Linked DNA regions of Homo sapiens: regions 1, 2, 4, 5 and 6 are each linked to region 3. The links are contacts of gene promoters, found by promoter capture Hi-C in blood cells and fetal thymus (Javierre and others, 2016). All regions are on one chromosome and are shown on one strand. The core of a region is centred on a gene start or on the middle of the fragment in contact, and the rest is flanking DNA. Distances in the headings are between cores, read along the strand shown. Region 1 has its middle 120 kb from the start of AQP9. Region 2 overlaps FAM81A (family with sequence similarity 81 member A). Region 3 holds the start of MINDY2-DT (MINDY2 divergent transcript). Region 4 overlaps GTF2A2 (general transcription factor IIA subunit 2). Region 5 overlaps LOC124903499 (a long non-coding RNA gene). Region 6 has its middle 77 kb from the start of AQP9.

Region 1 (4,290 bases), core at 681-3,180, 520 kb after region 3:
CTCTGTCCTTTGTCCTTGTGAGTTCATGCCTCCTTCTGCCCACCCTTGAGCATCTTTTCAGTGGAGTTTAAGTAGGAGAGGCCGCTGTATTCATTCAGAGTGCATGTGTATTTGTTTTCTGTTGCCGTCATAACAAATTTCCACAAATTTGGTGCCTTAATACAAATTTATTATTTTACAGTTCTGAAGTAGAAGTCCAACATGGGTCACACTGGGCTAAAACCAAGATGTTGGCAGGGCTGTGCTCCTTTCTGCATGAGACTATTTCCTTCCCTTTCCCAAATTCTTGAAGCTGCCTGCATGCCTTGGCTTGTGGCCCCTTTCTGGATCTTCAGAGCCAGAGACAAGTCCTTCTCACGTGGCATCACTCTGACCTCTTCTGCCTCTTTTAAGGATGACTGTGATTACATGGGGCCTGCCTAAATATTCCAGCGTAAGCTTCCTATCTGGAAGTCAGCTGATTAGCAATCCTCTTTGCAACCTTAATACCCTTTTGCTATGTTAGGAAACATGTTCACAGGGTCCAGGGATTAGGACATGGACATCTTTGGCAGATCACTATTCTGCCTAAGACAGCATCATGAACTAGAACTGAGAAATTTGAAATTCAGTTATCAAAATTACCAGGATGAGTTTATTTTCCTCCATCTTCTATCGAGACTTAAAAGGATTCTAGGTTCCAAAGAAACTTGAATCCTTGATACAATCCACACTTTGTAAATTGTGTATTTAGGCTTCTACAGATAAATGGAAAATGAATAGTACTTGCTTTGAAGTCATTTCATTCCTAAGTAGTGGGACATATTTTGTTTGAAGAACTCAAAGTAATTGTAGTGGGTTGAATAGTGTCATTCTCCAGAAAGTAAGTTCAACTCCTGACCCCTGATACCTGTGAATGTGACCTTTTTTGGAAATAGGGTTTTTGTAGTTATGATTAAGTTAAGGATCTCAAATGAGATCATCCTGGATTTAGGGTGGGTCTTAAATCCAATGACTGGTGTCCTTGTAAAAGAAAGGAGAAGATTTAAGACACATAGAACAGAGAGAAAGGCCATGTGAAGACTGAGGCAGAGACAATTCATGCAGCCCCAAGCCAAGGAATGTCACAGATTACCGGCGGCCACCCAAAGCTAAGACACAGGAGATGTTCTCCCTCAGAGCCTCCAGAAGGAACTGCCCCTGCTAACACCCTCATTTCGAACATCTAGCTTTCAACAATTGTGGGGAATAAATTTCTGCTTTTTTTTTTTTTTTGGCTGCCCAGTGGTAATTTGCTGCAGTAGCCCTAGGAAACAAATGCGGCAATCTTTTAGCCAACTTCTCCTCCATGTGATAAATACGCAGGTCCTATTGACTTCATTTTGCTCAGAGAGGCTGTTTGTTCACTGTTACAGCTGCCCATGTGACATTTAGAATATCTAGAGGCCATGTCCGTAGAAGCGAAATAAAATGGAAATTTGAGATCATCCGTTGGTTTCTACAGGAAAGAAAATCTAACATTTATTGATCTGGCTCTGTGTTAAATGTTTATGGTCATTATTTTATGTAATTCTCATAATGTCTTTATGAGGAAGGTACTATGATAATCTCTCTTTCATAGCCTTGGAAATTGCAACAGAGAGAGGTTAAACAACAGAGCAAAGATTCTAACAAAGCTCTTTCAAAACCCTGTGTTTATGCCTGAAGATCCCAACTGCAAGTCGAAACTGATCAAATCTAAATAATTTTTCAAATTTCCCCTTTCCATTGTCTATGTAGTAAAAGCCAGAAAGTTCAAGGGTTTCTGTGGACAATTATTTAAAAAATGATGAGTTGAATAAATCCAGACTATTTCTTCATATTCATATTATACCCAAAGGCTTTCTCCTGGGAGAAGCTGCTGAAGAATCAAGTCATTAAAAACTATGTCAGAAGCTGCTGCATGGATCTCACTGATACTCATTTGATTACAAAAATATTGTCTTTCCCCGCAGCTATGCTTTTGTCAGGGGTATGGGAAGATAACTAAACTGGCAGGCCAAAGGCTCAGAGAATTCATTACCAAGATAAATAGAAAAAAAGGAACTTCAAGAGCCTCTTAGGAGATTTACAGGGATTGCCAGGGCAATTATTCTTCTTGGTGTCTCCAGCACATCCTGCTTCTGTTCAGAAAAATGAGGACAATTTGATAAGCCCACTGTTTAGGGGGCTATCTGGTGGGTCGTTTTCATGGATAACATCTTGAGCTTCTTTCGTTCTACTTTTTTTTAACAGGCTGGTTTTAAACAAAGTTAAAGCCGAAGTCAATGGGTAGCTATATCCCAGATTCCAGGGTCACTGCTGTGTTACCAGTCTGGGTAGAAAATAAGCTCTTGTCTCTTTATCTCTCGCCATTGAGATAGTATCATTTTTTTTCACTCCTAGAACCCCACATTCTGGTGATAACTCTCAGGGCTTACTCAGCCCAAGCCAGTAATCTTTGTTATAATCTGTTTGTGAAGAGAAAACAACACATTTGGATCCTTCCATCTTGTCCTTTTTTATCACCTGCTGTTCTTGTCAAAACCCAGGCCGACGGGTTGCTCTTGAGGTGGCCTTGACTTACTTGGTCACTGGAGGGCAGGGAGCTCAGAGCTGATGGCGAGGCCACTTCCCCCTCTATGTTGATGTCACCATCCCAGCTAGGGTGCAAGTATGTGTGGAGGAGACAATGCTGATGGAGCAGGGTGGATAAAGCACAGGAGTACTGGTGTGCCCTTGCCCAGGCCAGTCTCCAGAGGCCTGTGGCTCCTTCCCTCCAGTCTCTGTAGCGTCACCCCAACTCCTCCATCCCCTGGAAATTCTTTCTCTTCCCTCATCAAGGACTGCCCCTGGGCTGGGCTTCTGGGCTGACACCAGTACTCCTCCCAGGGTATTGGCTGGTTAGACCAATCCACAAGGGATAGGACCTGTGCTGTCGGCAGGACATTGGGAGAAGATAAAATTGGATGGGCAGGGTGCAGTCAGATGGTGACAGACCTGGGATGCTTGGCCAAGGCGTCTGGGAAGGTTTAGAGCTGGATGTGAATCACCTGCCCTGCAATCCCAGCTCTATTTCCAGCCACTGCAGCCTGTGTCTCAAAGGTCTGGTTTTCTTGGCGAGCATCCCTGGGTAACCAGGCAAATGTGCCCACCCCTTCCAACTCGTCATGTAGTGCCTTTCTTGGGGGTCTCTTCCCCCCTAGTCACTTGCTCTCTTTATTTCAAATTCTGTGAGTGAGCTGGAGAATTGGGATTGATGGACTCCTTAATTAACGTTTGGGACTCTCTCCCCACCTACTGCAACTGCTGACTAGAAATCCTCACCTCTCTTCTGTTCTTCTTGCATCCACAGCTCCACTGAGGCTGTGTGTGAGGTAAAGCTGGTGTTTGGAAGGAATACTGCTTCATGGAGTCAAGCTTGTCCAACGTGAGGCACATGGGCCGCACGCACCCCGACACAAATCCAGAAACTTTCTTAAAACATTTTGAGATTATTTTTGTGATTTTTTTTTTTAGCTCATCAGCTATTGTTTGTATTAGTGTATTTTATGTGTGGCCCAAGACAATTCTTCTTCCGTCGTGGTCCAAGGAAGCCAAAAGCTTGGACACTTCTGCTTTAAAGCTTTGCGAGGGCAGAGTGTGATGTGAGATACTCGCCAGACTGGGGGCAGAGCTCTGAGGTCTGGGGCAGGGCTCTGCTGGCCCACCTGGCAGTTCCCACACCAGGACTCGGTGTTCCCATCTGTAATATAAAGGGGTTCTCCAGAGGCACATCCAGTTCTAACATTCTGTGACTCTGGGTTTTGTAACCCTATTTACTCATTTTCTATTATTTCCTGAAAACGTGGTGTCCCAGTTGCAGTTATCTCTCCTTTCCATACACTGAAGGTACAGAATGGTATTTTAATCATCTTGGCATTGACATGTTTTAGAGCATTTTTTTTATCCCAGTGAGTCTTCTCAGTGATACACAGAGGCACAAGCTGGATGGAATGTCTAATGTTTAATGTGGCTCTCCCCTTCCCCTCTCTTCCCCAGTCTCTATCATTCATGTGCCTAGGTGTTTATACAGGTCCCAGGCACGTTCGTTTGCTTGAAGCTCAAGGAATGCAGGGATACAGCCCTTCTGAGTTTGCTGGATGCTTGTGGACCTGGGCTGCAACTCTGCTTCCTGCTTCAGAGGAGAGGGCAGGAGAAGGAGCCCCTGCCCAGATCTCAGCAGCCTTGCTTTTCTTTGAGTCTGAGATCTCTTGGGAGGTAGGTGCCTCTGCCACTTACTGGCTCACTTAC
Region 2 (4,407 bases), core at 1,100-3,599, 730 kb before region 3:
TTAAACGAACAATAGCAAATAAGGCAGATATTGTAGAAAAAGTCCTAGAAGACACGCCCTATGATGGCAAAGGGAAACTTTTAAGTGGCCAAAAAACAAACTGAAATGCCAAAAGTTTTGCTTTGTGAAATTAATCTGTGACGTTTGAGGTCAAATACTCTCATATTCATTAGCCTGCCTATGCTCTAGCTTTGCCTAATTTTGTCCCACATACAGACTATGTGATGAGGTAGTACATACAATGAGTCCCAGGGAATACATTATTTCCTGAATCAAAAATTGGGACGAGTGGCATGTAAAGGATGCTTGATCACTTACTTGTGCAAGAGATAGCTTTCAAGGTGTCATTTAGAATTTCTGGAATGTATTAGTTGTTCTAGGAATGTGGTGGTGGGGAGTAGAATTAGGACTATACCAAACAATTTTGGTGGTTTGGTTGCCAGACACATGAAGGGCCACTCTAGTGAAATAGGAAAGGAAGAATCAAAGAAAAGATGCTTATGATTGGCATAAACCCATGCTAGATGCCCCAGCTGGTTTCTCCTGTAAGAAATAATCAACACCATGTTATTCTTAGCTAAGAACAAATTACCCGCTTCTAAAAGCTACCTGAAACAGGTCGTACCTGTCCCTCTGCATCTTTGATTTTCGTTTCCAAGATAAGTTTGGCAGCCTGCTGTTCTTTGTTCAAGTGCTGGAGCCCCTCATAGGTCGTTTTGTGCTCTGCAGAAAGTCTAGCTATGCTGGCATCACATCTGTCCAGACAAAGAACAAAGCTGATTCTTATTAAAGTTTAAAAACAATGCGCAAAAGCTTCCTTATACACTCTGAAATGCAAAACCCACTCAAAGAAAGTGCACTATCCATCATTCTTTTGAACAGAGGTTCAAATGAATTCCAAGAGCTGGCCTCATTATGGTTTTTAAGGTAAACCACAGGGATGTTGCTTAATAAGGCTAGAGATGTAACCACCAAAGAAATAAAGTCTTTCCAACGATCATGAGTACAACACTGTATGTGCAGCGAGAGGCCAATACAAAGAGCATAGCTAGTGTGCTGGATGTGGTCTGTCACTCTTCAGTACCACCCCTGCCTTTCGAAGTTGGGGGCCTCCTTGGATTTGGGAGGAAACTTCTACCATGTTAGAAAATATTACTTCTAAACTTTGACTGAATCACTCGTAAGGCTGTATAGTATGAGTAGGGTGTAGAGCAGGGGAAGGCTTTGCAGCCAGTTCAAGCTGTAGTAAAAGCTGCTGCCCTGTGGGCCTTGCAACTTGGCAGATCCAATGGTACTCAAAGTATGTGTGGCAGATGAGCTGTGTGGGGCCTCTGTCGAGTCCTAATAGGAGAGTCACAGAATGGACCCATAAGAGTTTAGAGCTAACTAATGCTCTGTTCTGAGACAATATTCCTCTGTTGAGAAGAAGCTGCTGGCTTGCTACTGGGCTCAGTAGAGACAGAATGCCATTAGGTGACTCTGCAATCGGAGCAATCCATCATGAATACCACACTAGAAGGTGGGCCTAGAACAGCACTCCATCTTCAAGGGGAAGGGTTCAAGCAGGTTCAAAAGGCACAAGTAAGTTACAAGAGCACAGACTCCCACCATGGCATCTATTCCTGCTACTGCACCAACTCTCCTTCAATCCATGCCTATGACTTCTTCATCTTCTCCCTCCTGCTGCTTGGGAGGCTGAGGTTGAGGCAGGAGAATTGCTTGAGCCCAGGAGTTCAAGGCCAGCCTGGGCAACATAGCAAGACCCTGTGTCTACAAAAAGATAAAACGATAATACAAAACAAAACAAAACAAACAAACAAAAAAATCTGTGGCTTCTAGAAGAGTTCTTGATGACCAGGTGGACTGAGGGAGAAAGTCAGGCCTGGCTTACAGATGGTCACACCCAGTATGCTGACACCTTCTGGAATAAGACTGCTGATGCTTCTAAGTCCACTTAGGAGTAGCCCTAAAGATTGTTAGGAAGACAGAATTTCTAACAATATATTGGGAGATTCATTTTGCCTGGAATAAGAGATGGCCAGACATTCAAGGAAAGTGGCTAATGGTTAGAGACTTAGGAAAAAAACTGGAGGATTAGTGACAAGGAAAAGAGTTTACATAAATGGATCATTCTTAAGTGACACAACATTTTTGCTCCTTGTAAATGCTCTTTGTCTCGTAGGGACTGAAGCCCCAAACTATACTTCCCAGACGTCATTGCCAGAAGGGTTCGGAGTTAGATTCTGACAGTGAGAGTCATTTATACAAGACTCAGAAGGTAGAAGAGGAGAACCCTTTATTCTCCCCTGTCAGTGGTGGGCAGACACAGGGGTGAACTGCAGATGTGAGGTGTACATCCACTTCCAGGCAGACACCATCCAGCAAATCACTTACTTCCATGCTATAGGTGGCTAAGATGATCAATGACGCCTTTCTGTGATTTTTTTTTTTTTTTCGAGACAGAGTCTAACTCTGTCACCCAGGCTGGAGTGCAGTGGCGTGATCTCGGCTCACTGCAACCTCTGCCTCCTGGGTTCAAGCCGTTCTCCTGCCTCAGCCTCCTGAGTAGCTGGGATTACAGGTACACATCACCATGCCTGGCTAATTTTTGTATTTTTAGTAAACATGAGGTTTCACCATGTTGGCCGGGCTGGTCTCAAACTCCTGACCTCAGGCAATCCACCCGCCTCAGCCTCCCAAAGTGCTGGGATTACAGATGTGTGCCACCGCGCCCAGCCCTTGTCTTAATTCTAGACTAGACATAGTTGAAGATAGAATCAGTGGCTTCAATGATAGTAGCAAGGAACTCACTCAGAATGTAGTGGACAGAGATTAAAAACATGAAAAAATAGTTAAGAAACATGGAAGTCAAATAGAGGGATGTTAACATAAGTCAAGGAGGAGTTCCAACAGAAGGAAATAGAGATAATGGCAAAGAAGCAATATTTGAGGTGTGAATGCCAACAATTTTCTAAAATTGAAGAAAGACATGAATTTTAAGATGTTCAATGACTACAAACTGGGATAAGTAAAAATACATAAAGCATGGGGAAATTCAGATAACCAATGATAAATATAAAATCTTAAAAGCTACAGACTAAAGAGAAGTAACCTACCCAAAGCTACCAAAAACTGACAATAAGACTGACAGCCCACAATAGATATAGGAGACAACAGATATCAGAAGATAATGGAGAAACATCTTCTAAGTATTGAGGGTAAATAACCTATCATCCAAGAATAAGTACAAAATAAAGACTTTTTCTAACATGCAAAGATTAGAAAAATATCACCCACAAGCCAATACTGAAAAAGTTACTAATGAATGTACTTCAGTAAAGAGAAAAGAACACCCACAAAGAAGGAGTAGGGTGCAAAAAACAATAGTGAGTAAATGGATAAAATTGTGGTAAACTTATTATTGACTCTAAAGAAAGTAAGCTACCAGCTCAATTATTCCAACTTTCTTATAGACTCTTACTTTGCAACAACTGTTCTAGAATGTAAACTGCATGCAAGGAGACATTATATATGCCTCTTTCATCACCTAAAACCCTAGTTTTATTTATTGCCTTGCATATGGTAGAGGCTTAATAAATATTTGTGAATGAATGAATATAAGGAAATATTTACTATGTACTAGGTACTGTACTAGATACTTGACATATATTATTTCATTAATCCTCACAAATCATTCCCATGTCAATGATGATTAAAAATAATGCCAAATGTAGACCCTGATTTTTTATTTTGAGTTCATAATTTTTTAGCAAAATATTATTGAAATCATATTTGGGGAAAGCTGAGGTTTTTAAAATACTATGAAATAAAAAATATAATAGTTTTTTTAAAAGACATTATTTTCCAGTCCAAACATAAGCTTCCTAGATAAACACTATCAGGTATCACTACATCAGACCAGTTTCATCAACTTTACAAAGCCGTTTGAGGGACAGACTGTGTTTTAAAATGTAGTTTGAAAAGTCTCAAAAGTATTCTGAAGCTTTCACTAGCTATCACTTGGCTTCAATGCTGTGTCTCACTTGGAAACACAAGTACTATAACATAAATTTCTATTAATACAACAGTGGCTAGGGCTGGGCACAGTGGCTCACACCTGTAATCCCAGCACTTTAGGAGGCCGAGGCAGGTGGATCACTTGAGGCCAGGAGTTTGAGACCAGCCCGGCCAACATGGGAAAACCCCATCTCTACTAAAAATACAAAAATTAGCTGGGTGTGGTGGTGCACGCATGTAATCCCAGCTACTCAGGAGGCTGAGGCACAAGAATCGCTTGAGCCTGGGAGGCGGAGGTTGCAGTGAGCTGAGACTGCGCCATTGCACTCCAGCCTGGGTGACACAGTGAGACTCTGTCAAAAAAAAAAAATAGTGGCTAAATACATTGAC
Region 3 (4,622 bases), core at 1,608-4,107:
ATTCTATTTTCATTCCTTTGGTTTATACTCTTCTCTCCCCTGGGAATTCCATTTCCCTGTTATTCTAAATTCTCTTCCTTAAAAGATCTGTTAAATTGCTCTAATTTGTCTTTAAAACAAACAAACAAACGAAAAAAAAAAAGATTGGTTCAAGACCCATAAATCCCATGAAGTTTTCTAGGACTACGCCATACCAAAGGAAAATGTCCCCTTTTTGAATATCAAATGCATTTCCACAGATTTACCACAGTTTACCTACCACTTGTCTCATATAACTTACTATTTCTTGTTCTTAAACAGTTTCCAGTAAGTTAATGATGCCACCTCAAACAGCTTGACAGCCTTTTAAGGGCAGGTACTGTCTTCACTTAAAACATCTCAGTGCCATTATGCACCAGACAATGGCAAGGTTTCTAATTTTATTTCTTTTCTATCAGTCCTTGCTAGCGACAGGAAGATAAAGGCATGTTTGATAAACACTATTCCCTTTACTTGATTTTCTACCTAAGTGTTTAGAAGAATCCAGGTTATTTTTCTTTTTCTTTTAATATAGGGTCTCACTGTATTGCCCAGGCTGGTCTCAAACTTCTGGGCTCAAGCGATTGTCTTGTGTCAGCCTCCAGAGTAGCTGAGCTTACGGAGTAGCTGGGATTACAGGCGCACACCACCACACCCAGTTTGTTTTGTTTTTTTTTCCTAGGAAACATTGCATCTACAGATATAATTATCAATTTGAAAATAAAATAGGTGCTGTGAGATGCATCTTCTCAGCACCCTAACACTGCAAGCTTAAATGAGACACTTCATTTGACAGGTAACTCGCTCTGAGTCCTCAACATACCTATTTTTAAGGGTCTTTCCCTTTTTTGCTCCTTCACCTTAGACATACCTTTTCTTATTTTAGTTCTTTAGAGTTTTAGCTCCCTTAACACATTCGGATGCATGGTTACTGGTAATAATGCCAAACCATTTAAGGAGAGCCAAAGAAATGAGGCAAGTAAAAATCATGCATAAAATGAAAACAATCTTTGAAAACCAAGAAGTTACGGTAATTGGGTCTCAGACCAATGCTTTTCCTTAAATGGAATTTGTCTAAAGAGCCACATCTTCCCCATCACCATTCTCTTAAGTATCTACACACAAATGGGGCATTAGTTGGAAATCAAACTAAATATAACCATGAAAACTTAGTCCATGATATCACGGATTGATGGTAACTTCTGAAGATTACTTTCTCCAATTCTTCACTTTTTTGCATATGTGATAAGGTCAGTAAGAAAATGTAGGAAATTATAGTTTAAAATAATCATAAGATTTAAGATGCTCTAAGTCCTTCTTGTTTCTAAGTGTATCAACCACAATTGAATGTTGAACTCTTAAACACTACAAGAGAAGACTGAGGTTAGGGGCAATTCTTTTCGATATATGTATAAAGGAATATTCCTTCAACATGGAAGTCTTGGAATGAATTTCATGTAAGAAGGGGACTGATGAATGAGGAAAGAAAGGAAGCCATCACCTGACATGCAGCAGCTCCCTCACCCCGTTTTCCTCCACCCCAAAAGCTGTAGGAAGTAGAAAGCTGCAGAATGTACCTTCCAGGCCAGGAGCAAAACATTGAGGATGGCCAGCAAGGGGCAGGGTCCGTTCTCATTCTGGGTGATGATGGGTGTGTTCTCTTCCTTCCACTGGATCCACTTGATGTGATACACAGATTGTCCCGGGAAGCGTTCCTTGGAGGCCGCCAGCACCTGAGCGGTCTCCTCCCCCTCCTCCTCCTTGCACAGAGGAACAGCCCCGGGCAACACCGCCGCGCCCTCCTCCTCCTCAGGGACCCTGTTCTCCGCTCCCTCCTCACTATTGAACTCGCAGCTACTGGGAAAAGAATGCAGGTTAGAGAACGACTCCAGAGAGTCCAGGCTCGGAGATTCCCCAGGAGGGCTCGGGTCGCTGCAACTGCTGCTGAGGCCGCCGGCGCTGCTGGGCTCTTCGGAGCCGGCGGCGGTCAGTTCTGCTTGGCAGGTGCCGGCGAGATCCGGGCGGGCTCCCGCGTCTCCGGCGGTACCCAACTCATGACCCACTCCGGCCACGGCTGTCTCCGGGGAGGCGGTCACCTTGTACTGCCCTCTCAGAGGCGCCTCGGCGGCAGCAGGACTCTCCAAACCACTGTCCTTCAAGTCCAAACCCGCGGAGGAGCTGCAGGGTCCGGGAACCTCAGGAGAGCCCGCGGGAGAAGCCGAGTCCGGGAGGCTCCTCCTGGCGGCCGCCGCCCCCAGCCCATTCCCGCCGCTGGTCTCCGCCGCCCATACCCCAGGACCATCACCAGCGGCGAGCCTGGTCTCCTGTAGCCCTTCCTGCGAAGAACCTGTCCCTGACGCTGGCCCGGCCGCCACCCCGTGTTCTAGCGGCTGCAGGCTCTCGGGGCTGCTCTCCATACCGGGCCGCCCGCCCCCAGCTCTATGGAGACCGCGGCCACTTCTCCGCAGCCAGCGCCTTGGACGCCATGACAGCTGTATTGGCAGCAACAGCGCCCTGGCGCGGCCTCGGTCAGGCACGTCACCGGGGAGAGTACTAAGAACGCGCGCGGGCGCGCGCTACCGCTCTGTCCGTGCGCTCTGAGCTTGCCTCCGCCTGACTGCGCGCTGAGAGGCGAAGGCGAACCACTCAGCAGCCGCCCACGTGGCCCAGCCCTTTCCGTGCGTCCGACCGAGCTCGCTCTCGGAAGGCCGGGCGTGGAGGGCGTGGCTAGGAGGGCGCGGCCGGGGGGCGCGCCCCCGCGGCTCAGCTCCAGTAGGAAAACATCCTCTCACTATGTGGCCGGAAGTTGAACTCCCGGGCAGCTCCCTTGTGTGCGGCTTCTTTAAAGGGAAGGCAGGAGGCGGACAGCTTGGCTGTGACCCTTTAGCGCTGGGTCGCGTGTGGCCCACCCTCGGCCTGAGGCATTGTTGGGTGGTTGGAGGTGGTTGTAGTATTTGGAAAAGAACTTGTCCCTGAAGGGCTCAGGGGACTTGGTTTCTCAGCTCCTAATATGGAAAATTAAGGCATTTCTTACGAGATGCAGATTTTAAAGCAGGCATATCTACTCGACGGCTTTGGATTACTGCACTGCACAAATTCCAGTCTCTGTCGGTTTTGGCTGAGAAGAGCTGTGCTTCTCACCAGCTACTGGTGAGACATTCGCCCTACAGGAAAGGGTCGGTATGATTGTGGACATTGACATGCGTAGCAAAAGAAAGTGGCTAATTTGCGCCAATAATAATAAATTAGCTTGTATTTGAATTAGCCAAGTCTTTGCGGTTTTGCTAACTTGGCTTCACTTTGCATGGAGTGGGAAGCGCCTGCTTCTGAAAAGGTGACTTTTTTCCTAATTAGAATGGACTCCTCTTAAGGCCATGCAGTTTTCAAAGAAGAAAGACAAGCTGGACGTTTTGTTAGTAACAAAATGTATGTGGGTCCTATTCTAACTTGTTACAGAAAAGGGCTTTTTCCCCCATCTTTTTTCTTTCAACATTTTCTAGGCTGTTGGGGATAAAAAATTAACGAGACAGGTCTTCCTTCGCAGACATATAAATACCTGATACATAATTAGAATGTGATATTTTTGCACCTCTGTTGGTTAGAGAAGGCAGACAAGATTGCAAAGTAGTATTTCATTCATTCCTTTAATACATTTTAGTACCAAGTAAGTTGCTGGATGCTGTCTGTCACTGGAGATGCCATAGTGGATCACGGAGCTTATATCTTCATGGAGCTTACTGTCTTTTTTTTTCTTATTGCTATTTTTTAATACATACTTATATGTTTTTTTGTTTTTGTTTTTGCTTTTGTTTTTTTTTTTTTTTGAAACGGAGTCTCTCTCTGTCGCCCAGGCTGGAGTGCAGTGGCACGATCTTGGCTCACTGCAACCTCCGCCTCCCGGGTTCAAGCGATTCTCCTGCCTCAGCCTCCCGAGTAGCTGGGACTATAGGCGCCCGCCACCATGCCTGGCTAATTTGTTGTTGTTGTTGTTTTTGAGACGGAGTCTTGCTCTGTCGCCCAGGCTGGCGTGCAGTGGCGCGATCTCGGCTCACTGCAAGCTCCGCCTCCCGGGTTCACGCCATTCTCCTGCCTCAGCCTCCTGAGTAGCTGGGACTACAGGCGCCCGCCACCACGCCCAGCTAACTTTTTGTATTTTTAGTAGAGACGGGGTTTCACCGTGTTAGCCAGGATGGTCTTGATCTCCTGACCTCGTGATCTGCCCACCTCGGCCCCCAAAGTGCTAGGATTACAGGCGTGAGCCACCATGCCCGGCCACACATAATATGTATTACATATAATACATGAATGTTGGATACTTATATTCTTGTTTACCTGAGAATGCAGAAGACTGTGCCCCTTTTTTTTTTTTTTTTTTTTTTTTTCCCACTTGAGACGCAGTCTCGCTTTGTCACCCAGGCTATAGTACAGTGGCGCCATCTCAGCTCATTGCAACCTCCACCTCCCGGGTTCAAGTGATTCTCCTGCCTCAGCCTCCCAAGTAGCTGGGACTACAGGCGCACGCCACCAGGTCCAGCTAATTTTTTTTGTATTTTTAGTAAAGACGAGGTTTCACTACCTTGGCCAGGCTGGTCTCTAACTTCTGA
Region 4 (4,661 bases), core at 1,191-3,690, 880 kb before region 3:
GATTTAGATAAAAATAGGTATAGAGTTCAACTATAGTGACAGGGAGGGAGAGTATATGGGTACAGGTTGGGCATCCCAAATTCAAAATGCTCCAAAATCCAAAACTTTGAGCACCAACATGACACTGAAAGGAAATGCTCTTTGGAGCATTTCAGAGCTTGAATTTGGGGTACTCAATCACTAAGTATATACGATGCAGATATTCTAAAATCCAAAAGACTTCAGGTCCCAAGCATTTCAGATAAGGAATGTTCAACCTGTATAGCTATTGGTAGGTAGCTGGATGTGGCTGTGAGTCTGGAAGTTATTGCTGCAGTTTCCTCAGTGAAGTGTAATACTTTGTGTCATACTCAGATACATTTCTAATATATTAGCACTTTAACATACTACCAAGTATTTCACTCAACAGATACTTAATAGATACTACATACGTTGTTCTAGTTGGTAAATATGTAAATGAACAGAAGTCCCTGTCTTCAGTGTGTCATCTATTTTAGTAGATGGAGACAGAATAAGCATATATATGTTAGCTTCAGTTATTGGTATGAATGAAAATAAAGCAGTGTGAGGAAGAAGGAAGGTAATTCTTTCTTATAGGTTGATTATAGAAGGCCTTTCTGATGGAGTAATGCTTGACCCAGAGATCTGAATCAAATGAGAGAGTGAACTATGCAGGTATTTGGAAAGAATACTGTCAGCAAAAAGAAGAGCCACCACAAAGGCCCTCAAGCAGGATCATGCTTCCCCTGTCAAAGAACAGCAGGGGACCAGTATGACCAGAGCAGAGTGAGAGGGTGAGTGGGCGAAGATAGGGAAGTAGGCACTGGGGGGCCCAAATCACATAGGCCTTCCAAGCCATGGACTCTGTGGTTTTCACTGAGATGGGATGCTGCCATTGGTGGTTTTGAATAGACCAGTGATGTGATTTGCCTTATGTTTTAAAGTCTTAGTGTGGCTACTATGAGGGTGGGGTTGGGATAGGCAAGACTGGAAATAAGGAGACCATGAGTTATCACATTAACTTTAGTGACAGATGATGGTGACTTAGGGTAATAGCATTGAAGATGGTAGAAGCTGTCAGATTCTGGCTATAGTTAGAAGGACGAGCTGAAAGGTTGGCTGATGGATTGGATGCCAGGTAAGAAAAAGAGAAGTTACTCTTGACTCAGGTTTTTGAGCTGTTACAGGAAGACTATGTTTACTGTTACCGAGGTGGGTAAGACTGAGGACAGAGCATATTTGCAAGAGTAGCATCAGAAACATGGTTTTTGACAAATTGAATTTGAGCTACCTACTTGATATTTTTATCCAGTGTCAAGCAGGCAGTTTTATATATGGGTACAAAGGGAGAATTGAGGGCTGGAGATACAAATTTGAGAGTCATCACCAGATAGTAGATGGTATTTAAAGCCGTAAGTCTGGATGAGGTAACTAAGAGAGTAAAGTATGTGGAAAATAGAGGACCCAAGAAAACTTAGGGCAGTTCAACAGTTACAAGTCAGGGAGCTGAGGAGGAACCAGCAAAAGAAAATAAAAAATACAATGGTATCCAGTGACATGAGAACTGAGAATGCTGTCTCAAAGCCAAAGAAATGTTTCAAGAAGGCAGAAATGATCTGTTGAATCCAGTGCTAGCAAGGTGTGAAATGTAAGGACTGATGGCTGGCCATTATTTTTGCTGAGTTTTATCTGATGATTGCTCCTCAAATGTATTTTCCCCCATCCATCTCCAGACTGAAAGGGCCATGAGGTCAAGATCTTACACCTGACGTGTAGTGGAAGCTCAGTAAATATTTATTGACTGTGTACTGCTGCCACCCTTTTCGAGCCCCCATCCCTCATCTGTTTCTAAATCACGCACTGAAGCCCAGCTGTCTGACCTTTCCTGCCTAAAATTCTTCAGTGACTCCCCACTGCTTGCACCTATCCTGCCAAACAACTCCATCTATGCTGTCTCTTTCAGCTTCATCTCCTGCCACTCCCTATTCGTACTTATGCCCTGATAATGTAGAACAGTTTATGTTTTTCCCCACAAACATTTCATCCTTCCATGGCTTTACTTATTCTATTCTGTCAGCCTCTGGAATGACTTCCCTCCTCTGCTTGGCTAAAGTCTAGCTTAAAGAACCTGGAAGCTTTTCTGAGCCAGCTCACTTCTACAGGCAGCCTCCATGGTATGCTTTGTATCTTTATCCCAGTTCTTATCTTTTTGTATGTTTGTTACATTCTCTAGAGTATAAATTTTTAGGATTGGGAGCATGCCTTTAATCATCATCTTCTCTCTGGAACCTGTCACAGTGCCATTCTCTTGGTAGGCACTCTGTAAATACTGAATTTAGAGAGAACAGGAAAATAAAGGGGCAGACATGCAAACATGAGCTGAAGATTTTACCAGTGACTTGACAGCAGGTAGAAAGGACAGTACATGGAAAATTCTAGACTAAGTCAGAAGGCAGACATTTGAAGGAAATGGTAAAGACATTTTAATAAATATAACAGCTATACTGCATAAAGGAGTATAAATGCCCATGTCAAAATCATGGGGAAAAAAACTGGAAAATCATTTGTAGCAATTCCTTGTAATTCTAAAATGATTATCTAGTAATGTGCAACCACTAAGCGTTCTCCTAGTTCTATATTAGAATATTTGAGGTAGATGATATTATATACATAATTTATGATGTTACAGTATGATCTTTTTTAACAATTTTATATTAAATTTTTAGGACATCAATGCAAGCTTGAATAAGAAAAACAAATTCTTCCTCCTAAGCCATGGCATATCAGTTATACAGAAATACTACTTTGGGAAACAGTCTTCAGGAGAGCCTAGATGAGCTCATACAGGTGGGAGACTGAATTAAAAATCAAACATTTTTATCTTGATGGGTTTACAGTAATTCTTGTCATATCACTTAGGCAAAGAGATATGAGGTAAAATATCTTGGACTATTTGACCCAGCAAGTCAGTAACACTGATTAAATTACCTCAAATTCTTGTTTATTACACTGTCCTGACAACAGGACACAAAACATGATTGAATGATATCATTAAATATAGCTAAATCTGGGTACATGCAGTGTTTCATGCCTCTAATCCCAGCACTTTAGGAGGACAAGGTGGAAGGATCGCTTGAGGCCAGAAGTTTGAGACCAGCTTAAGCAACATAGCACCACCCATCTCCACAAAAAATAAAAAAATTAGTTCGGTGTGGGCGCATGCCTATAGTCCCAGTTACTCGGGAGGCTGAGGTGAGAGGATGGCTTGAACCCAGGAGTTTGAGGCTTAAGTGCACTATGATGGTACCACTGTACTCCAGCCTTGGTGACAGAGCAACATCCTGCCTCTAAATAAATAAAGTTAAATCTTCAAAAATTTTTGTTCAACATAAAAATTGAGATTGTTGGTTTCCCCCTTCTCAAATTTAGGGAAGAAAGTCATATACTTTTTAGCTTTAAGATAGTTTTGTCCAATTTAAGTCTTCTGAGATTTACAAGTCTGAATTTATATTTCAATTTTAAGAGAATTAACCCTTCTGTATAATTCTCCCAAATAAAAACATATTAAGTATTTCCAGCTGGGCACCATGGCTCATGACTGTAATCCCAGCACTTTGGGAGGCCGAGGCAGGCGGATCACCCAAGGTCAAGAGTTAGAGACCAGCCTGACCAACATGGAGAAACCCTGTCTCTACTAAAAATATAAAATTAGCTGGGTGTGGTGGCACACATCTGTAATCCCAGCTACTTGGGAGGCTGAGGCAGGAGAATCGCTTGAATGCGGGAGGCAGAGGTTGTGGTGAGCTAAGATTGCGCCATTGCACTCCAGCCTGGGGAACAAGAGCGAAACTCCGTCTCACAAAAAAGGAAAAAAAAAAAAAACATATTAAGTATTTCCATTTGTTGGTATATTTTATGAGATTCAATAAAATTTAATAGGTTTTTTGTTTGTTAATATAGGCCCTGTGTATTTAAAAGAAACACCTCTTTGTCTATCTTCTCCTTTCCAGCCACTGTAAGGGAAAATTGACAAAGTTTTGTTCTGGCTTTGTAACATCACTGCATGTTTTCTCTTCAAGATTGTTTGTGTCAAGATAGTACAAAAGATGTCTTCAAGCTTGGTGCTTCATCATCAGTTATGGCAAAGGAGATAAAGGAATTCTAGTTTAGAGGCTTTGGTTAACCTCAGTTAAATTTTAGATGATAATTTGTATATTTTTATTTACTTTGTCTTTAATGTTCTTCCTTAACGGGATTTATGACCTTTACCTTTTCTCAGTCTCAACAGATCACCCCCCAACTTGCCCTTCAAGTTCTACTTCAGTTTGATAAGGCTATAAATGCAGCACTGGCTCAGAGGGTCAGGAACAGAGTCAATTTCAGGGTAAGGATATTTTCCTGAATCTAGAAGCCTGTACCAATGGTTGTTAAAACACTGATTTTTTTTTAGGACCCCTACATATTTATTAATCATAAGAGGAAGAGGTGGCTTAGTCAATTTTTGGAACTTGTTTTATAGTAACTAAATTATACTTTTCAATCAACTATAAACTAAGTTGATCCACTTAATGTGAGATACAGAGATGTTTTTAGATTTTTATTTCATTGTTTCACAAATCAGCCTTTGTATGTTTGGCTACCTTCCCTGAAGAGTTACTGAG
Region 5 (4,397 bases), core at 981-3,480, 530 kb after region 3:
TGTGCCATGAGTGTGAGCAAAATGGCTCACATGCTGCAGGCCAGGACGGACATAAGTAGGACTCCTAGAAACTGGTATTCCACTAGGAGTCACCAGCTCTTTGTTTGTTCGTTCGTTCATTCATTCATTCATTCATTTTCTCATCTGACATGTGCTGAGCCTCCTCGGCTCCCCAGGTGCTGTGAGCACGCAGGGCACAGCCTCACTCCTCACACAGTGCTCTTTCCACCAGTCCTGCTTCTCGTTTGGGGGACAAGTTGCCGAGAGCAGCTCGGTCGGGGAGACCCTAACCCAGCGGCGCTAGAGGAATTAAGGACACACACAGAAATACAGCGTGTGGAGTGGGAAATAGGGGACTCACAGCCTTCAGAGCTGAAAGCCCCGAACAGAGATTTACCCACATATTTATTGACAGCAAGCCAATGATAAACATTGTTTCTATAGATTATAGATTAACTAAAAGTATTTCTTTCTTTTTTTTTTTTTTGAAACGGAGTCTCGCTCTGTCGCCCAGACTGGAGTGCAGTGGCGTGATCTCGGCTCACTGCAAGCTCCGCCTCCCGGGTTCACACCATTCTCCTGCTTCAGCCTCCCAGGTAGCTGGGACTACAGGTGCCCACCACCACGCCCAGAAAATTTTTTGTATTTTTAGTAGATACGGGGTTTCACCATGTTAGCCAGGATGGTCTCCATCTCCTGACCTTGTGATCCACCCGCCTCGGCCTCCGAAAGTGCTGGGATTACAGGTGTGAGCCACCACACCCAGTCTAGATTAACTAAAAGTATTTCTTACAGGAAACAAAGGGATGGCCCGAAACAAAGGGATGGGTCTGGCTGGTTATCTGCAACAGGAACATGTGCTTAAGGCACAGATCGCTCATGCTGTTGTTTGTGGCTTAGGCATGCCTTTAAGCGGTTTTCCGCCGTGGGTGGGCCAGGTGTTCCTTGCCCTCATTCCGGTAAACGCACAACCTTCAGTGTGGGTGTCATGGCCGTCACGAACATGTCACAGTGCTGCAGAGATTTTGTTTATGGCCAGTTTTGGGGCCAGTTTATGGCCAGATTTGGGGGCCTATCCCCAGCACAAGTACACTTGGGGTACCAGTTGTGCATCTGAGTTGGGGTTCCCTAAGCTTTTAGATAATCATGGAGCCTCACTGTGGAGCATAGATTTACTCAATGTTTTGGGAGGGAATTATTGTATTAAAATAAGGAGTGATCTATTATGGGGAAGAATTGAAATTTAGCCTGACTTTTAAAGATAAAATTTGAGACTTCAAAGATATTTTTGAGCTTGTGGAGAACTTCTTCCACTCCCCCACCCTCCACCCACTTACCCATTCACACACACACACACACACACACACACACACACACACCAGAAACATCACGTACCAAGACCAACTTCTGGTAGACATTCACAACTTCTTTGGTGGGCACACAGGCCTCTAAGGCCAGGGAGATGAAGGAGCCTCTGAATTCTGCTTACTACTCAACTTGAAAAATCTGTAGGCAAGTTTATAATAGGTCTTTTGAACAGGGTGTCTTCCTTGAGTTTCTCTGACAGGCAGCCCACCAGGGGCCCAGGTAGCCCATCAAACTTCTAGACCTCTACTGAAGTTGAAGAGGCGAGTCCTCTTCAGTGGGCCCAGAATATAAAATCTGTTTTGTTCCACAGTGCCGGGCTCTCTTTCCTGGATGGGAGAGGGGCAAAGATGCTAATTCTGGGTTGAACAGATATGCTGGGATGACCTGCTAGGACTGAGGCTGGCACCTGTTTATGGATTGGTCAGTGCTCATGTTATCCACTGCTATAAAGAAATACCTGAGACTGGGTAACTTATAAAGAAAAGAGGTTTCACTGGCTCATGGTTCTACAGGCCGTACCAGAAGCATAGTGGCTTCTGCTTCTGGGGAGGCCTCAGGAAAGTTAAAATCATGGCCGAAGACGAAAGGGAAGCAGGCATGTCTTACAAGGCTGGAGCAGGAGGAAGAGAGGAGGAGTGAGGTGCTACACACTTTTAAACAACCAGATCGCGTGGTAACTCACGCACTCACTTAGACAGCTCTGGGGTAATGGTGCAAAAACATTCATGAGAACTCCACCCCTGTGATCCAGTCACCTCCCACCAGGTCCCACTTCAAACACTGGAGATTACAATTCGACATGAGATTTGGTGGGGACACAGATCCAAACTATATCAGTGTTTAAATATTTTGAACATCATGACTAATATGAAGTAGTCTTTATTTGTAATTACTCACCCTATTACACAACTTTAAATGCCTGCCCCCTTTTCATGAATATTTCCAGGCCCCCCTCAGATTATCAATGTATAATCCCAGACAGGGATGTTATATGGATAAGATGAGACAATATATGGAAGGCCCTGAATGACGTCCCAGGCACAGTGGGAGGGTTCAGTATATATTCTCTATTATTCAATCAATGTGTATTGAATACATAAATGGTGGAAAACATTTCATCACCAGAAATACCTTTATTATTTTGTCTCCATGCCCCTCAGTGAAGGAAGCAATGCCATAAGACAATAATGAGTTTGTTAGTGGGGATGGAGTTATCTATATTTTAAAAAGTCAATTCACTTATAGGAAAGGACTGGGAATCCCTAGTGATTTCTCCTTTCTTGGCATTGTTTACCTTCTGTTTCTCAGAACGTGTGTGTGTGTGTGTGTGTTTGTGTGTATTTGGGTGCTACTTTGAGATTGACCATATTTGCTTAATCTCTTATATTTGTGGAAGACTTACAGGCTATTAATACTTCAAAGAACTGACCTCCCTGGATCCCGCTGTATCTTGCTGGGACATAATCAGCAGGTTCCATCAAGTCTAATCTACTTAGTGACATGACCCTGGGCTCTCATATATCTAATAAGATTTTTCTCCCTAACTCTAGAAGGTATATTAAACCTGCCATTTGTAATTTACCTGTTAGTAATTATAAATGCATACCATCATTTCTCTTTTGGTCCTAAGATCCACTTGGCAAGTGGATTAGTTCACACAATTTGGTGTTCTGTACCTTGGAAGAAAGGAAAAATGCTTTTGCCTGTAACAGCGCAGTATCCTTTTTCCTTAATTAGGGATGGCTGGGCATCTTTGGGCTCTTATTTTATTCTTTTGTCGTTTGGGCCCATCTAATGGAAGCCTCTGCCTTTGTCTATCTCCAGTTACCTTTTATCTCACCTAAGAGTTTAGGCAATTTAAAACCAAACTCCCTTCTTTGGGTTACAAGGTCACTGGAGCCATTATTTTAATCTGGATTTGAATATCCCTCTCATAAAAAAGTTCATAAAAGAAGCTTGATCAGGACTGACTAATTCAATGACTTTGGAAGCTTCTGCTCTCCATTTAGGCTTCCTATTAGCTTGATTCAGCTCTGGACCATTGATCCTTTTAAGTTTCGGATGGAGAGTTTCACATTTCTTTTCTTTCTTTGTTTCTTTTTTTTTTTTTTTATGGAGACCGAGTCTCTGGAGTGCAGTGGCACAATCTCGGCTCACTGCAACCTCCACTTCCCAGGTTCAAGCAATTCTCCTGCTTCACCCTCCCGAGTAGCTGGGATTATAGGCATGTGCCCTAACACCCAGCTAATTTTTGTATTTTTAGTAGAGACAGGGTCTCACCTAGTTGGGCAGGCTTGTCTCGAATTCCTGACCTCAGGTGATCCACCCGCCTTGTCCTCCCAAAGTGCTGGCATTACAGGCATGAGCCAGCATGCCCAGCCTACATTTCTTTTTAAAGTGAACAGAACCCAATATGAATCTTCAGTAAATTATTTTCCTTAATCATAGAATAGATGGCATCACTTCCTTTATGATTATTCCTATAGACCTTTGCCAACTCAGCCTTAAGATCCAAATATAAATCACAGAACAGTGGAGATGGAAGATTTAGGATCATCGAGATTTAATCTCTTACTTCATAGACAAGGAAACTATGAGAAGTGAGGTGATTTGGCCAAAGTCACAGAGATAAATTAGTAGTTACAACAGATTATATTTCGTATAATTGTTTGCTTAAAGCCACATTTCTGAGTCACTTGTCTTAGAAGTTGGGGAAAAAGGCAGGGTGAAAGAAAAAAGTTGAGCTATCAAGGTTCAAGACAAAAGGTGAATTGGGACCTTGTATGGAAGGCGGATGTCAGAATGGGAAATGAAAGGATACCAGCTGCTCAAAGCCAAAGACAGAGCACAAACCAAAGACATGAGTGAGTCAAGGGAGGGGAGTTCATGAAGGGTTGGTCTGTGCCAAGGAGGTGAACTACAAGGGAAACTTAGGGGGTTCATGAGGCTGTGCTTTCAATTGCATTAACTTCTCTTGCAGGCTTGCTCTTTTTAGAACAGAGGAGTTTTATATTTTTTAAAAATTGAGG
Region 6 (4,804 bases), core at 1,262-3,761, 560 kb after region 3:
GCACATATATTTCCTTGCTTTGCCCACTTGAATGGCCTAACAAGTAGTGACACCTAGCTGCAATGAACGTACTTACTGTCTAGATCTTGTTGTAAATACTACTCTCCATTGCAAAGGAACAGGACTCCTTGGAGAATGGTGATGTGGTTTGGATCTGTGACCCCACCCAAATCTCATGTCAAATTGTAATGCCCTGCTTTGGAGGTGGGACATGGTGAGAGGTGATTGGATCATGGGGGTGGATTTCTCATGAATGTTTTAGCGCCATCCCCCTGGTGCTGTTCTTGTGGTAGTGAATTCTTGTGAGATCTGGTTGTTTGAAAGCGTGTGGCACCTCCTCCCTCTCTCTCTCTCCTGCTCCACCTGTGCGAAGTGCCTGCTCCCCCTTCTGCTTCTGCCATGTTTATAAGTTTCCTGAGGCTGGGCAGATGCCAGTACCATGCTTCCTGTAAAACCTGTGGAACCGTGAGCCAATTAAACCTCTTTTCTTTATAAATTACCAGGTCTCAGGTATTTCTTTATAGAAATTCAAGAACAGACTAATACAAATGGCTTAATCCAGATCTGAGAAAAAAAATATAAAATGAATCAGAAACGTTTTATGGTGCCAGAAATCAAGGAGAAACTCAAAAACTAATATGTTCTTCTTTTTTTTTTTTTTTTTTTTTTTTTGAGACAGAGTCTCACTCTGTCACCCAGGCTCAAGTGCAGTGGCGTGATCTCGGCTCACTGCAAGCTCCGCCTCCTGGGTTCACGCCATTCTCCCAACTCGGCCTCCTGAGTAGCTGGGACTACAGGCGCCCGCCACCACACCCGGCTAATTTTTTGTATTTTTAGTAGAGACGGGGTTTCACCGTGTTAGCCAGGATTGTCTCGATCTCCTGACCTTGTGATCCGCCTGCCTCGGCCTCCCAAAATGCTGGGATTGTAGGCATGAGCCACCGCGCCCGGCCTAATACATTCTTATAAGAAGGATACAGGATTCATTTTGAAGGGCCTCCCTTTAGCCAAATTTGGGACAGTTTGAACATTAAAAAAACAAAGTAAGCAACTTTAACACATTAAATAAAAAAGAAATGTATGAGACCATGGTAATATGATGTAGAGAGAGAGGGAGAAAGAGAGAGAGACAGACAGAGAGAGAGAGAGAGAGTGAAAGTAGAGAAGAAACAGAATAAAAGGAAAGCTCATCTTTACAGAAGAATGTTAGCTAATAAATATGGGAAGAAGGATACAGTCCTAATACAATGATGGACTCAGGTAAGGATCTTTAATTGTTACTAAAACAGTTGGGTGACATTTTGGAGAAAAGTCAGTTCATATGGTACCAAAGTACTACCTCACAGACTACTGATGATAAAGGAGGGGAAAATGTACTTTTACTCTGTGGAGACCTCTGGCCATCACCACCTTAACCAAGGGATCAAACTTAGCATCACTTATACTGGGACGCTCTTATGACATTAAGTGGCTACCCTAGTATGATTCAACATTAAGTAACAAAATGGACAATGCAGTGTTCTTGCCAGAGATGTTTAACTTGAATCTAATCAACTTGCCAGACCTAATTTTCAGGGCACAGAAAATATAGGGATAGAGGAACAGATTACAAAACAAACACCAAGAGGAAACAATCAGCTTCATCTAGAATGTGTGGAACATTCTATGAAATAACTGGACTCCTTTAAAAAGTCAACGTAAATAAATTTTTAAAAAAGAAAAAGTATCTTTTTTAATATTTTAAAACAATAAAAGCTTTAAAAGGCTAAAAACACAAGTGCAAGAATTTGGCATAATTTTAGAAATATAAATATGAACTGAATATTAGGTCATATGGAATCATTGTCATTTTCTTAGATGTGATTATGATATTGTGGTTACATAGAAGAACCTCCTTATTCTTAGGCAATGCGTGGTGAAGTAGTGACTAAATGCCATGAATGTCTGCAACGTACTCTAAGTAATTTAACAAATAATAATATATATATTTTATTCCTCCTGTATTTCCTCTGTAGGTAGATAGATAGGTAGGTAGGTAGATAGGTAGATGGATAGATTGATAGACTGATAGATAGTCAGCAACAGAGACAAAGGAGGAAGCAAATAAGGTAAAATGTTAAAACTTGGTGAATCTAGGAGAAAGGCATATTGTTAGCTGAATTCCTTTATCTTTTCTATAGACTTGAAATTTTTCAAAATAAAAAGTTGAGGGAAAATGCCTGGCTATATAACATAAGACACAGGAGAGTCCTTGGGTTTTTATCTTATAAATTTTTCATTTTATGAATTGTAAAATTAAAATTCAAAGAGATTATAGAGCTTACTCAAGGCCACAGAGTTAGAACATAACAGAGCGCAGCCTCTGGTGTTATATTCACTGCTCTTTGCTCTCATGAAAATTAACCTCAGTTTTTATTTCCTTCTCATGCCACACTGGCTTTTCCCTATCTGAAGGACTGGGGGAGGCAGGGGCCTGAAGTTGATTGATCCCTGATACTCTCCTCAGGATCATGGTTGCTCCTTCTCATTAGGCCTGAGCTTGGGGACTACAGGAAGCCCTGCGCTCTCACGCTCCCTCTCACTCCATCTCCCACCTCGACTTCCTGGGCTACACTGTCTCACTGTTTCTTTAACACAGCACCACCCTCACTGACCTGGCCATGTCACTCCATCAGTCATGTTCCTTAATATTCTCGGGCTGATTTTTAAAAGGCTTCCTGGAATTATTGAAAACAATCACAACAACAGTAACTCAACACAATCATATCTTGGCCATGCTAATTGGAAACCTTAGTTTCAAATGAAAGGTTATACTCCGGGCAGTAACTTCTCCAATCTCCAACGGGGTAGTGCCTTCTGCAAAAGGGTAGCTTTAAACACACCAACCTATAAATTAAACCACCATGCTGAGTTTGCACGAGAACATTTTGCAAGGTAGTTAAACAATGAAAAGTAAGCGTGTTTCCTATTGGGTCCTTTTCCCCTCAAAGAAAGGGAACTAGTGGTGGAGATGCTCAATGGAAATCAAGCATAAATTAAGGGGCTTAAGCCTTCCTAGGTAGAGAAGTAAAAATAACCGAGAAATCCTCAAGGTTGGATTTAACTTTTCTGCTTTTTTTCTCCGAATCCGTCCTTCCCCCACCCCCTTTTTGTGTTTTCATTTAACATTGCATTTTCTTTTTCCTTTTCTGATGTACCTACAGTTTATTTTCCTTCTTTGACTGGAACAAAAGGATTTTTATTCTTAATGTGTGTTGGAAAGCTTGGTATAAAAAATTCTAGACAGTCAGCCCTGTCCCCCATCTAGCTGTTGCTTATAATGGACCTCTTTTCAGTGAATATCTAATGAAGGTAGCTGTTAAATAAAAATGAATGTTATATATAAAATTGTAAAATGTTATTTTCTACCTTTTAGAGAAAAAGCATATCAATGTGGAATGTATAATTTACAGTCAAGCTGGAAGACTACAGCAACTTAAATGGTACTAGGCACGGAACGGGCAGGAAATCAAAAGTCATCAAGGAAAGTTGGAGGATATTCCAGAGATTGCAACATAAGCCCCAGAGGTTCAATGTATTTGCTGAGTAAGGGCCTTTTAGAAAAACAAGTCTGTGGGTTGATATTATTGGCACATTCCCTCCAAATGACAGACATCATCTCTTCTCCTGAATTTATGGGGCTGAGTTTCTCATTTGTAGTATGGTGTGTGTCTCTGCATATGGAACTCTAAAATTAGCTTTTTAAAAGCAGGCATAACAAGCTGCTGGCCTGGGTTTTATTTCATCTGTATAATATTTTTAAAAATAAGAAATTTGCACATGAAATCCCTGATTTCCAACTTCTCTGGGAAGATCTGGCAACCCTGGGCTTGAATTTTCTCCTGTTAAACGTTGCTTATCTCCCATGGCTGTGAGCTCTGCAGTTTGCTGCCACCCTTAGAAGTCCCTGTTGTATATCCAGACGGCTTTATTTAAATGGCTGGCTCCCAGCAGCCTCTGAGTTTGAGACCTGTGTCATAGAGTTTCAATTCATTTTGGTGAAACGATTTCTTTTTTGACAAGGATAGGTATTTACATCTATTATGGCAACTCATGCACTCAGGATGCCTTACAAGGAGTTTTACATTACATCATTTTATTTATTCCTTCCAAATTTTACGATAAATAAAATTATTATAATTACTTAAAAAATATGTCTCTGAATCTTGGAGAGGCTATGGAACTTGCCCAAGTTAGCAGCAGAGCCGAATTCAAATCCAAAGCCCTCAGAGAACTGGGGCAAAAGAGAATGGTGAGGTTGCGGTTACCCACGGCTGATTTCCTTGAAAAGAAAGAAATCAACATGATAGCATTGAACAACCATGGGTCAAAGGCCCCAGACCTGGGCCTGAAAACATGGCTTGTCTTTCTGAGGGTCTTACCGCTTATTGGTTGGTAACGTTGAGAAATCCCCTTTCCTCTCTTGGTCTCAGTTTCACAATGTACAAAATGAGGGGAGAGGGGTGGGTGGATAAGGAGACCTCTAGAAGCCCTCAGCCTTCTGTCTTCCTTTGTGTTTAGTACATAGCTGAGAAAGGATTTGTTCCTTTTCTTCTGCTCCCTCTGCTGGGCATGGAGCAAGAGGACACTTTTTGCTGCCCAAGCCCTTTTGAATTTAATTGAATCATTTATCAAGGGCTTGCGCTGTACAAGGTCATGGTGGACTCCTGGTCACCTGATGAGACCTAGACTAGCGATGATTATGAGTCACTTTCTGATCACTGTGCAGAGCAAAAGAAGTGAAGGTCTGAAGTATCTCAGGATT

The links. The method cuts DNA at HindIII sites, captures the fragments that hold promoters and counts their contacts. A CHiCAGO score of 5 or more calls a contact.
Region 1: a fragment that was not itself captured here is called in contact with the fragment with the promoter of MINDY2-DT in region 3 in 14 of 17 cell types (total CD4 T cells, endothelial precursors, M2 macrophages and 11 more); the score reaches 14.3 in total CD4 T cells.
Region 2: a fragment that was not itself captured here is called in contact with the fragment with the promoter of MINDY2-DT in region 3 in 1 of 17 cell types (total B cells); the score reaches 6.1 in total B cells.
Region 4: a fragment that was not itself captured here is called in contact with the fragment with the promoter of MINDY2-DT in region 3 in 1 of 17 cell types (naive B cells); the score reaches 5.6 in naive B cells.
Region 5: a fragment that was not itself captured here is called in contact with the fragment with the promoter of MINDY2-DT in region 3 in 14 of 17 cell types (M2 macrophages, M0 macrophages, megakaryocytes and 11 more); the score reaches 17.6 in M2 macrophages.
Region 6: a fragment that was not itself captured here is called in contact with the fragment with the promoter of MINDY2-DT in region 3 in 12 of 17 cell types (megakaryocytes, M1 macrophages, M0 macrophages and 9 more); the score reaches 15.6 in megakaryocytes.

The regions. Positions count from the first base shown.
Region 1 is chr15:58,251,366-58,255,655 of GRCh38, reverse strand. No RefSeq gene overlaps it. Among named protein-coding and RNA genes, the nearest start is that of AQP9, 120 kb to the right of the region's middle. The HindIII fragment of the contact is 2,979 bases long and covers 441-3,419 here.
Region 2 is chr15:59,503,561-59,507,967 of GRCh38, reverse strand. FAM81A (family with sequence similarity 81 member A) reads right to left here. Exons shown (of 9, transcript NM_152450.3): 5 at 626-755. Among named protein-coding and RNA genes, the nearest start is that of FAM81A, 68 kb to the right of the region's middle. The HindIII fragment of the contact is 3,067 bases long and covers 816-3,882 here.
Region 3 is chr15:58,769,209-58,773,830 of GRCh38, reverse strand. It overlaps MINDY2-DT (MINDY2 divergent transcript), which reads left to right and starts at 2,857. Exons shown (of 2, transcript NR_135474.1): 1 at 2,857-3,444. It overlaps MINDY2 (MINDY lysine 48 deubiquitinase 2), which reads right to left and starts at 2,529. Exons shown (of 9, transcript NM_001040450.3): 1 at 1,596-2,529. The coding sequence starts at 2,435. RefSeq lists a silencer at 2,575-2,854 and an enhancer at 2,667-3,592. The HindIII fragment of the contact is 12,290 bases long and covers 791-4,622 here.
Region 4 is chr15:59,650,392-59,655,052 of GRCh38, reverse strand. GTF2A2 (general transcription factor IIA subunit 2) reads left to right here. Exons shown (of 5, transcript NM_004492.3): 2 at 2,727-2,847; 3 at 4,280-4,384. The coding sequence starts at 2,776. Among named protein-coding and RNA genes, the nearest start is that of GTF2A2, 4.8 kb to the left of the region's middle. The HindIII fragment of the contact is 605 bases long and covers 2,138-2,742 here.
Region 5 is chr15:58,234,004-58,238,400 of GRCh38, reverse strand. The region is part of intron 1 of LOC124903499 (a long non-coding RNA gene); the gene reads right to left. Among named protein-coding and RNA genes, the nearest start is that of AQP9, 98 kb to the right of the region's middle. The HindIII fragment of the contact is 2,190 bases long and covers 1,136-3,325 here.
Region 6 is chr15:58,212,922-58,217,725 of GRCh38, reverse strand. No RefSeq gene overlaps it. Among named protein-coding and RNA genes, the nearest start is that of AQP9, 77 kb to the right of the region's middle. The HindIII fragment of the contact is 1,507 bases long and covers 1,758-3,264 here.